Regions from separate parts of the Homo sapiens genome. Here regions 2 and 3 are each linked to region 1. The links are contacts of gene promoters, found by promoter capture Hi-C in human tissues and cell types (Jung and others, 2019). All regions are on one chromosome and are shown on one strand. The core of a region is centred on a gene start or on the middle of the fragment in contact, and the rest is flanking DNA. Distances in the headings are between cores, read along the strand shown. Region 1 holds the start of PDCL (phosducin like). Region 2 overlaps MRRF (mitochondrial ribosome recycling factor). Region 3 has its middle 6.2 kb from the start of LHX6.

Region 1 (4,112 bases), core at 984-3,483:
ATGAGATATCAAACTGTTAATACGAGATGCAGGATTCAAATCCAGGCCAGTCTGTGTTCATTACCATGCTGCTATGCACATACATTTGTATTGTGCACTAAAAGGCTAGAAGCACACATAATGAAAAGACTAGGTTACCTCTGAAAGTGGGACCAGAGTTAAAAGTGATCAGGAGAATTAATTTATTAATATGTATTTAATTAATATGTATTTAATGTACATTTTTTAAGCCTGTTCCCAGAGCCCAGGGTTTCTCAGTACCTGTGTTAACTGAGATGCCTTCGCCTGCCAGCTCAGCCTCTGCAGGCACAGAACTGCTGGCTGGGGCACATCTGCCTCGGTCCTTGTCCTCGTGGTCACTGTCCTCATCCTCACTGCTGCTATAGTAGTACTGCAGTTTCTCCCCCAGCAACTTATCATCAAGGGTGGTCATGGTGTCTGGAAAAAGAAAGCATATCAGGTTCTTTGCTGATTTGAGCCAGACAGACATGAATCTGAAGCATAGGGGGCTCGCCTGTGCTGAGATCCTACAATTTCCAGGACACTAAAGTGATTATTTTCATAACCAAAATCTTAACAAATCCCTACCGTTACCCTGTGTGTTAGGGCTTATCACACTCTTTAACAGAAGGTAAAACTGAAGCTCAGATAAAGGAAGAGTCTTCACCAAGCTTAACAGCGAATGACGGAGCTGGGACCAGACCCCAGGGATTCCTGACTCCAAGAGCCTGAGGTATAAATTACTCTAGTCTGAGTTAAGTGTACAAGCCACCTGCACTGGCTTGGAGGAATCTACTGACTAGTGGTTTTATCTGTGCTTTTAGTTTTCCCACCAGCTAAGACTGCTGCCTAATTGAAAAATTGTTTAAGTATCCTCAGGAAAAACCCCAAAAAGAGGCATCAAGAGTACAATGCTGAGTCACTATTTGTCTAGGCAATCACTCTCTGTCACCAGCCTTCAACTTCCCAGACAACACCCTGAGGGCTTGGATGGATGGTCTCTGAAACGCTACCTATTCTGACAGTTTAAAAGAAGGGCCCATACAAAGATTTTAATAACTCCCAAGGGTTTAAAGGACTATGATGGCCGGGCTCGCGCAGGTAATCCCAGCACTTAGGGAGGCCGAGGAGGGAGGATCACTTGAGACCAGGTATTCGAGACCAGCCTGGCTAACATGGCGAAACTCTTGTCTCTACTAGTAAAAGCAAACAAACAAACAAACAAAAATTAGCCAGGTGTGGTGGCGGGTGTCTGTTTTCCCAGCTACTCAGGAGGCTGAGGCACGAGAATCTCTTGAATCCGGGAGGCGGAGGTTGCAGTGAGCCAAGATCACGCCACTGCACTCCAGCCTGGGAGACAGAGCGAGACTCTGTTTCAAAAAAAAATAAAAACTAAAAATATAAAGGACCAGGCTTCTGCATCAGAAGTAGCCAAGGGCATTCTGATGAAAAGATGCAGCTTAGCCCCCAGAGGCCTGCTTGAGAATTCAGCAGGAATGCGGCTGCCTTAAAGACTTATCACCGGGCCTATCATACTCCATTTACAAAGTGACTCTCTCCCACCGGGCAAGGAGTTCTTGAACGTAGGGACCTCTAGTCACTACCTCTATCCCCAAAGCCCAGCACAATGCCGCTGCACAATTTGCTAAACTCGCAGCCTGGGTCAACGGGAGAATCGGAGGACTCCAGCAGTCAGATGCAAAGGAGACAGGGATCATGGAGAGACAGGTGGAGGTGCCAAGAAGGAACAAAACCAAACTTAAGGCCCAGGAATGGGCCAAGCGGGGGACACAGCAGCGGCGGAGGGGAGGGAAGGAGTTGCGCTCCTAAAGGAGGGACCGCTGCGGGGAGGAGACGAGGGCGGGCCCCCTGGAGACGCGAGCAGAGGAGGCGGGGCCCCCGGACGGGAAGCAGAGGGGTGTGTGGAGCTTTTGGGGGAAGGCTGGAAGGGCCCGGGGGAGGTGGGGCCAGAGGAGGAAAGGGGACGAGGAAGACGCGGAGAACTTGGGGGTCGAGACAGAGCGAAGAAGGGGCAGTTTTACCCAAGCTCGCCAACCCCACTCCCTCCCGTAGTCCGCAGCTGCTGCCGCTTCCCGGTGGACCCCAATGCAGTTACCTGCCCTAGCTCGCTCCGGATCCCTTTGGGCCAGCAGCTCCGGGCGCCGGAAGGAATGGAGCACTTTCTTAAGAGGAAGAGCAGTGGGTCAGCGCCCTGAGCGCTAAAGAGAAAAGCCGCCGAAGCCCGACAGCGCGGACCAATGAGGCGGCCTTCCTGCGTCGTGGCGGACGCGCATTGTCCAATCAGAAGCCGCTACTCCCAGCTGAGGGGCAGGGGAGAAGCTACGGGTCCTACCTTGGAACAAAACACCTCGACAACAACGCTCTCCTAATTGCTTTGTTTTGGTTTTAATCTGCACAACAAAAAAGTGAATTGTATGACCCAGCGTCAAGCAATAAGAAAAATGTATTCACAGGCCGGGCGCGGTGGCTCACGCCTGTAATGCCAGCACTTTAGGAGGCCGAGGCGGGCGGATCACTTAAGGTCATGAGTTCAAGACCAGCCTGGCCAACACGTTGAAAACCCGTCTCTACTAAAAATACAGAAATTAGCCGGGCCTGGTGGCCGACGCCTGTAATCCAAGCTACTCGGGAGGCTGAGGCAGGAGAATCGCTTAAACCCAGGAGGCAGAAGTTGAAGTGGGCCGAGATCGCGCCACTGCACCCCAGCCTGGGCGACAGAGCGAGACTGTCTCAAAAAAAAAGAAAGAAAGAAAAGAAAAATGTATTCACTTCCCTTCGAAGTTTCCGAAGCCATTCAAAGTGTGTTTTTTATTGGTTCTTCATCGCATCACGTCTATTAGACGGAAAAGTGACTCAGAGACGTTCGGTAATTTGCCCGAGAGCACAAATCCCTCAAGTACAGGGCATAGATTAAAATATATATATATATTTTTTTGACGGAGTTTCGCTCTTCTTGCCCAGGCTGGAGTGCAGTGACGCGATCTCGGCTCACTGCAACCTCCGCCTCCCGGGTTCAAGAGATTCTCCTGCCTCAGCCTCCAGAGTAGCTGGGATTACAGGCGTCCGCCAGCAGACCCGGCTAATTTTTTCTATTTTTAGTAGAGACGGGGTTTCACCATTTTAAAGAAGCGGCAGCCAGGAGTGGTGGCGCGCGCCTGTAGTCCCAGCTACGCAGGAGGCTGAGGCGGGAGGATCGCTCAGCCCAGGACTTGGAGGCCAGCCTGGGTGACAGAGCAGGAATGTAATGTGAAATCCGGAATTGGCTCCTGGTATAGAAAAAGGACATGGGGCCGGGTGCGGTGGTTCACTCCTGTAATCCCAGCACTTTGGGAGGCCGAGGCGGGCAGATCACCTGAGGTCAGGAGTTCGAGACCAGCCTGGCCAACATGGCGAAACCCCGTCTTTACTAAAAATACAAAAATTAGCCGGGCATGGTGGTGCACACTTGTAATCCCAGCTACTCGGAGGCTGAGGCAGGAGAATCGCTTGAACCCGGGAGGCGGAGGTTGCAGACAGCTGAGATCGCACCACTGCACTCCAGCTTGGGGGTCAAGACTGAGACTCCGTCTCAAAAAAGAAAAATAAAAAGGACATGAATGGGACAACTGACGAAATTTGAATAAGGCCTATTAATTCATATTAGTAGTATTGTATCAATAGTTTTAATAATTATACTATGTAAGATGTGAACTTTTGGAGATTCTATTAGATGAAGAATCTAGGGAAGCACTATCCTATTTTTGCAACTTTGTTTTCTTCTTCCAGGGTAAAGCCATACTATGATATTTTGCAACTTTTTTTTCTTTTTCCTCAGGCATACTTTGTCGTCTGTTTTTGCAACTTTTTTAAAACCTAAAATGATTTCAAATTCTGAGCCCTTGTTGAAGTATCCAATACACAACCGTGAAGTTGCTCATAGAAAGCTTTGGGTAAATTGAATCATAGAAAATATTCTAGAAAGATACACTGTTTAAAATAGGGCTCTTAATTTGGGGTAGGGGATCTTAATTTGTGGTTCTAGGACCACCTGAAATTGTCTGCAAATTTCTGTACCTGCCTGTTTTCAGAGAGGCTGTTTGCTGAGGCCCTCA
Region 2 (3,803 bases), core at 426-2,925, 540 kb before region 1:
AATTCCAACTTAGTTCTGTCAACATTTCAAGCTTTTCTATCACGATACTGCTGTTCCTGTGAAAGCCCCTTGTACACTCTTGTCACATTGATAAGAATCCCTAAATGTTTGTTGAATCTGAATTATTATTATTATTTTGAGACAAGATCTCACTCTGTTGCCTAGGGTGGAGTGCAGTGGCCAGTACGGCTCACTGTAACCTCTACCTCTTGGGTTTGAGCAATCCTCCCACCTCAGCCTCATTGCTGAGTAGCTCATCTTCCAGGCACATGCCACCATACCTGCTAATTAAAAAAAAATGTTTTTGTAGAGATGTGGTCTTGCTGTTTTGCGCAGGTTGGTCTCAAACTACTGCCCTCAAGCATTCCTCCCACTTCACTCCCAAAGCTCTGGGATAACAGGCATGAGCCACTGCATCCAACCTGAATCTGAATTAGATAGGACTTAGATTTGGGGCTACTAAGGTTCTTTGGAATTCTAAAACTCTGTAATTTTTCTTTTAGGATCCCTTGACAAGATTGCTGTGGTAACTGCTGACGGGAAGCTTGCTTTAAACCAGATTAGCCAGATCTCCATGAAGTCGCCACAGCTGATTTTGGTGAATATGGCCAGCTTCCCAGAGGTAAGATGGCCTTGCTAAAATCTCTCTCCGTGGTCTCTTTTGGAATGGAGGAGACTGGGTCATATCAGGAGGAAGTGTTCCTTCAGCTTAGGATGAAACAAGAGAGAAGACATAATAAAGAGAACTTAAGGATAAGGCAAAGCTCTTTTCCTGTTGCCAGATTCCTTTTCTGTTAAACTCAGATGCTACAGAGGCTAGGTAAGTTGTTTGAATACCCAAACGGGTCCCATCTAAGAAAAACAATACTGGAGATGCAGTGATTGGTGCTTGGCCAGCGTGAAAAGGCTCTGGTGAGCTGGAGAGCCTGTACCTTGTGTGAGTGGAATGCCTCTGCCCAGCTCCTGCTGATCATTGCCAGGCACAATGTAGGCCTGGTAATCAGTGTTACCTGATACTACGATTTTTATTTCCAGAAGAAGCTAGTAACACAAATTTTTATGTGACATCTTTATTCTGTAAATGTTGATGACTAATTGAGTTTTTTTTTTAAAGACTATGAAGCAAATAAAACAATACTTTAATGGGCCAAATGTGGCCTGAGGGCCACCAATTTGTGACCTCTGCATTAGTATTTGGAGCAGACCCTCCAGGAAGTCCTTTTATACTAGACTGACCATTGCAGAATATTGCATGGAGCACAGTGCTTCCAAAACTGGAAGGTGGGTTGTATTAGGTCATTGCATCTTTGAAGCTTTATGATTTTAAGTGTAGTTGAAGAAGGTAATTGGGCTTTTTGTTATTGGTCCACTAGGAATTGGCCTGGATTAGGAGTCTTAGAGTACCTGGAATCCGGTCCCATCTCTACCACCAACTGGCTGTTTGACCTTGGGCAAGTTGCTTCACTCTCTGGGCCTCCATTTCCTCATCTGCTAATATAAGGTGAAGGAATCCTCCTGTTCTTATTGTCTATTTCAGTAGTTGTATTCCAAAGTCATAGACCAAGGTTGGACCTGTTGTATTTGACAAACTAGGCTAGAGATAGGAGAAAGGGAAAGCCCTTGCTGTGAACACACTGTTTCAAATCAAAGGGCTCTGATAGCTAATGGGCCAGGCACACCTGTGGGTGTGCTGTTACCACTCCCCTACTCCATTCTCCATACTATAACCAGAATGAGTTTTTGAAAAATATATATTGTGCCAGGCGTGGTGGCTCATGCCTGTAATCCCAGCACTTTGGGAGGTTAAGGTTAGAGGATCACTTGAAGCCAGGAGTTCAAGACCAGCCAGGGCAACATAGTGAAACCCTGGCTCTACAAAAATTTCAAAAATAAAAAAATTAGTGAGGTGTGATGGCACACACCTGTAGTGCTAGCTACTCAGGAAACTGCAGTGGAAGGACCGCTTGAGTCCGGGAGTTTGAAGCTGCAGTGAGCTATGATCATGCCACTGCACTGCAGCCTGGGTGACAGAGCAAGACCTTGTATCTTAAATAAACAAGGAAAAAAAAATATATGTATAAAAGATTTTGTCAGTTGTCATTCCCATGCTTTGCCTTTATTGGTGGCTTCTAGCAATCTTTAAGAAACAGTCCAAAATCCTCACTGTGGCCAAGAAACAGTCCAAAATCTTCATTATGGCCTAGATGGCTTTGCTTGATCTTGCCTCTGTTTTTTCAGTTTTGCCAGTCTTGTGCCACTGTCATCCTTGTACAATGCTTTAGCCACATTGGTCTTTCAGTTCCTCAAACACACCAAACCCTTTGCATCCTTAGAGCCTTTGCATATCCTGTTCCCATTGCATGGAACACTGTTGCATGGCTAATTGCTACTTATATTTTGGATCATGGCTTAAACGTCACTTTCTTAAGGAAGCCTTTCCTGACCTCTCCAATCTAAATTATTCTTCCACACTAAGTTCTCCTATACAGCACAATTCTTTTTCTTTATTGCACTTATTACTAGTGTACATTTGTGTACACATTTATTTTTCATCTCACTTTTACTAGAGTGTAAGCTTGGAATGTAGGAATGTCTAATTTGCTCATTGTGTCCAACACCAAACAGTGCCTGGCACATGGCACCATTTGGTAAATTTTCCTTGAATGGATGAATACCTGTTATTAGGTTGATAAAAGGGAGGCACTCATTTCTGATGTTAGTGAGGAACAGAGAAATTGATGAAAAGGGAACTGTCAACTGTTTCTCTTTCTGGGCCCCTCTGAACCACTGAGGCCTCTCCTCCTTGTTCATCTAATCCCGTAGGCACTGTGGGCCAATTTAGGGAATAGCCTCCTAATTACACAGCTTGAAGACCTCATCAGGCAGATTGCTTTTCAGAGCCAGCCACTTCTTTTATTAAATAGCAAATGGCATTCACAGAAGAAGCACCTGATTGGCCACCAGAGCATCTTATGAAGCAGGAGGAGATATTAACAGCTTAATTTTTTCTTAGGAAGTTGGGGTATATCTTCATTTTTCAACTCAGACATCTTTGCCATTTGTTCAAGTTGAAATTCCATGGGTTTTGAAAAAATCCTTACAAGTATATCAGTAGAGAGGTTCATTTACAGGAACAGAATGAGGAAGTGTGAGTTACATTGTCTTTTGAATTCCTTTATCTCGTCTGTTGTATATATTAAACAAATAGCTCTAACTAAAGATTTCCTTCCTCCAGCTTCGAAGCTGACCGTAGAGTACCCAGGTTCATAGCTTTAAAATGCTGAGCTAATCCTGTGTTTATGTAATTTCTGTTTCACATACAGTTGGCTTTCTTTCCAAACCTGAGCATTTCCGTGTCATGCTGTAGTGACACGATGCAGATTTACATGCATGATCTTTTTGAATGCATTGAAGACAGAAAACTGTGTTGCATTTGTTTAACATGTGTCCTGCTTGATAAATGATACACATAGTTGCTGCCTTCCATAAACTTGCCTGCAGCTAGAGTTAATGATGGGAAAGAAAAGAAGGGAATAAAAACCACAGCATGATTTGAACAAAACAAGCCAAATGAAAAAAAATAAAAATAAAAAACCACGCACAACTCTGCAGGCACCATTATTGCTCTTGCGGAAGGAAGAAAATGAATGTGTATTGATTGTCTGCTTTGTTGCTAGTCTCTTTCTCATGTTTTGTTTCCTATGATCAGTACAGGTACTCTGTAAAATTAGGCATTATTTATTTCATTTTATAGATGAGGAAACTGAGACTCAAAGCAGTAAAATATTTCCACTAGGTTTACA
Region 3 (3,604 bases), core at 1,090-3,589, 590 kb before region 1:
GCGTAAGATAGACCACCAACCCAGCCCAGCCACTTCCTGGCACGCTGAACTTGGAAAAGTCACTTATCTGAAACACATTTTTCTTAATATCAATATCTGGGAACAATATCAATCTCAGAGGAGTCAATAAGATAATCAGTGTGAAAGGGATTTGAGAAGCACAAAACTCCGGGGCCAGATGGCCTTAATGTCAACCTTGTCACTTCCCTTTATTACTTGGGTAATCCTGGAAAAGTTCTTCAGTCACTCATCAGCCTCAGTTTCCTCATCTGTTAAGTGAGGATAACCGAGTTCAACTCCTATGGTTGTGAAAATTACGCAAATGATCCATGTGACAGGACTCAGAAATATGCCTGGCACACAGTAGTCAATCAATAAACATTAGCCGTCATTGTGGCACGGGCTCTCTGAATTTTCTGTTTGTTATTCTACTAGGTACCACATCAAATTCTTTATGAAGGCAGGGGACAAATCAAAGCTTCAAAGTATATGGCAAAGCAATATTGCATACCTCAAAGCATATTGCAAATGTGAACAATTATAGTTACTGGAAGTCCCCTTCCAGGAAGCTCTGACATTCGCTAAGTAAGTTCAGGTCAGCAGACATTTGTGAAGCATTTACTCCATACCAGGTTCCACACTAGGCCCAGGAAATAGAGGAAGCTGTCCTTGTCCCTGCCCTTGAGGAGCCCACAGTCTCTTAAGAGAGAAGAAAGCCAGCAACTCAGTGCAGTGTGACAGGTGCTACAAAGGGTGCTATAGAAGCAAGGAGGAGGGTCACTTAACCTGGCTTATGGGTGGTGGATCAGGAAGGCTTCCTAGAGGAGGTGACGTTTCAGATAAGTCCTGAAGGATGAGTAAGTACAGACAGGCAAGAGCAGAAAGGAGTTGGACCAGGATAAAGAGTGGCGGCCCAGTTAGTGTTTGCTGGGGCAACAAAGGGAGATGAGGCTAGGGAAGTAGACAGGAGCCAGATTGTGGGGAGCTGAGTGTTGACGAGGTTAGATTCATCTTGGAAGCTGGAGTCTACAAGCCTACAGTGACACAGGAAGCAGCATCCTGCAGGAGTTGCACAGCACAGTGGTTAAGGATTCCGGGGTTGGAGCCAGGTGGCCTATATTGATAACCTGACCCTGTTACACACTGGTTGGGGGGCCGAAGGCAAGTCACAAACTCTATGAGCCTTAGTTCCCTCAACCGTAAAATGGGGATTAATAGATAACCCATTGACAAGTGCTGTGATGATACCAGGAGACCATGATGCATCTACGAGTTAAGTTCTTGGCCACCAAGAGACATTGTTATCACTGTTACCACTAAGAAGATGAGGTAATGGTCACACAGAAGGCACTAGCTAAGTGGGGATCCTCAAGGTGCTAGATGTTCCCTCCTCAGAGAATTCTACCCTGACCACATGATTGAAAATAAATCTCCCGTATTAATCTTTTTCCAGCAGAGGGTAGATACAGCTTACACATAGCCTCACAAATAGTCTTCTATAGAATGCCAAGGAATTTCAACTTCAAAATAGGAACTATGAGGGGCTTGTCAGCATGGAGATGACATGGTGAAGTTGGAGATTTGGAAAGATGACTTAAGTAGTTGGTTTGAAGATAGATTTGAAGGGGTAAGTACTTAATTGATTGCAGCAATACTGAACGTTTATTAACTAGTAATCTAAGGGAGAAGGAATGAGGCAGCTGCAGGAACAAGGAGGATGAACAGAAATAAAATAATTAAAAGTTTATTATTTTACTTTATTATGTTGTATATCATCATATACATATCTACAACACATCCAGTTTTCTAATCATCTTTTTTTTTTTTTTCCTTGAGGCAGAGTCTCGTTCTGTCGCCCAGGCTGGAGTGCAGTAGCACCATCTCGGCTCACTGCAACCTCTACCTCCTGGGTTCAAGTGATTCTTATGCCTCAGCCTCCTGAGTAGCTGGATTACTGGCACGTGCCTCCATGTCCAGCTAATTTTTTGCTTTTGCTTTTGTTTATTTGAGACAGAGTTTTGCTCTTCTCGCCCAGGCTGGAGTGCAATGGCGTAATCTCGGCTCACCGCAACTTCCACCTCCTGGGTTCAAGCGATTCTCCTGCCTCAGCCTCCCAAGTAGCTGGGATTGCAGGCATGTGCCACCACGCCCAGCTAATTTTGTATTTTTAGTAGAGATGGGGTTTCTCCATGTTGGTCAGGCTGGTCTCCAACTCCTGACCTCAGGTGATTCGCCTGCCTTGGCCTCCCAAAGTGCTGAGATTACAGGCATGAGCCACCGTGCCCAGCCAATTTTTTGTATTTTTAGTAGAGACGTGGTTTCACTATTTTGCCAGGCTGGTCTCAAACTCCTGGCGTGAAGTGATCTGCCTGCCTTGGCCAAAGTGCTGGGATTACAGGCGTGAGCCACCACGTCTAACCAACTTTACATATTAAGGTTATATATAGAATCATATATATGTAGTATATATGGTATAAATACATACAAATGTATCATATATGATATCATCAGCTATATAACATTTAGGAGACTGGATATAGGGAGTGGGGGAGTGGAAAATGTTCAAGATAACTCTCAGGTTTCTAATAGTTTATTTTATTTTTCCCAGTGACACAGAACATGGGAGCAATTGAGGAAGGGCAAGAGGGATCCATGAGCTCGGTTTTGAGTCAATGTACCAAGGGAATATTCAAGTGGAAGTGCCCAGGAGTGAACGGGACATATGGCTCTGCAGCTCAGAAGAGAGCCTGGATCTAAGAGAAGGAATTTCAGAGATATCAGGGTAGGGATAGCAGCGGAAGCCTTGGAAGTGGAGATTTTACAGCAGCTGGAATTTACCCCATCTATGAGAAGAGAGTTGGCTTGTTTGCTTTCTGGGAGGTAATTTGCCCCTGAAACTCATCTTACTTTTGGTGAGAATCGTTTTTTAAATTATAAAGCACATTATATGTAGTGATAAGTGCTAAAACAGACCCAGGTCGTTAAGACGCAGAAAGGCAATTAACTGCCTTATAGGAATGAGCATGGGTGGGAAAATATCTGTTAGACAAGTGGTGGGGGTGGGCAGAAGGGACTTCCCAGGTAGAAGGCACATCTTGTACAAGGACAGGGGAATCCAGGAGAGTCCATCATGTTTAGGGTGCACAAATAGTTTAGTCTGGTTAGGAGAATGCCTAGTGGGACTGATTTGTAGAAGGCCTCATAAACCTGGCTTATCCTATGGTTCTAGGTATTTGGAAGTATCTTAACTCCTTACTTAGATTAAATCTTAATATCTCTCACTTTGGGGCTTTGTTCTTTGTTCAACGTCCCCCTTAAACCGTTTACGCAGCTTATTAAACATCGTTTGGCCGCTCAGCTCGGGGGGAAATCACCTATGTCACCATGTCCCATTCCCAGCCTGGTTCCCATCCTCTGGTGTCTTGAAGCTGCTGAGTCGTCCCTTTATCACGGTACATCACAGTGCACAGGGCTCCTGCCTCATCATCTTTACACCCTCCACGCATCACACATGGCAAATGCCATCTGTTTCAGGAATGAGTAACCTTCCTTCTGATGAGGTCGCCCACCAGAAAGCTTCTCAAATGGGATAGGCCTGTTTTCA

Evidence for each region. Contacts are between HindIII fragments. The study calls those that stand out against the background at their distance.
Region 2: a fragment that was not itself captured here is called in contact with the fragment with the promoter of PDCL in region 1 in 1 of the 25 tissues and cell types used here (lymphoblastoid cells).
Region 3: a fragment that was not itself captured here is called in contact with the fragment with the promoter of PDCL in region 1 in 1 of the 25 tissues and cell types used here (hippocampus).

What each region holds. Positions count from the first base shown.
Region 1 is chr9:122,826,355-122,830,466 of GRCh38, forward strand. PDCL (phosducin like) reads right to left here and starts at 2,234. Exons shown (of 4, transcript NM_005388.5): 1 at 2,117-2,234; 2 at 262-438. The coding sequence starts at 433. RefSeq lists an enhancer at 2,136-2,430. The HindIII fragment of the contact is 7,303 bases long and covers 1-4,112 here.
Region 2 is chr9:122,284,666-122,288,468 of GRCh38, forward strand. It overlaps MRRF (mitochondrial ribosome recycling factor), which reads left to right. Exons shown (of 7, transcript NM_138777.5): 4 at 504-622. Among named protein-coding and RNA genes, the nearest start is that of MRRF, 22 kb to the left of the region's middle. The HindIII fragment of the contact is 3,862 bases long and covers 1-3,606 here.
Region 3 is chr9:122,233,391-122,236,994 of GRCh38, forward strand. No RefSeq gene overlaps it. Among named protein-coding and RNA genes, the nearest start is that of LHX6, 6.2 kb to the left of the region's middle. The HindIII fragment of the contact is 6,020 bases long and covers 1-3,604 here.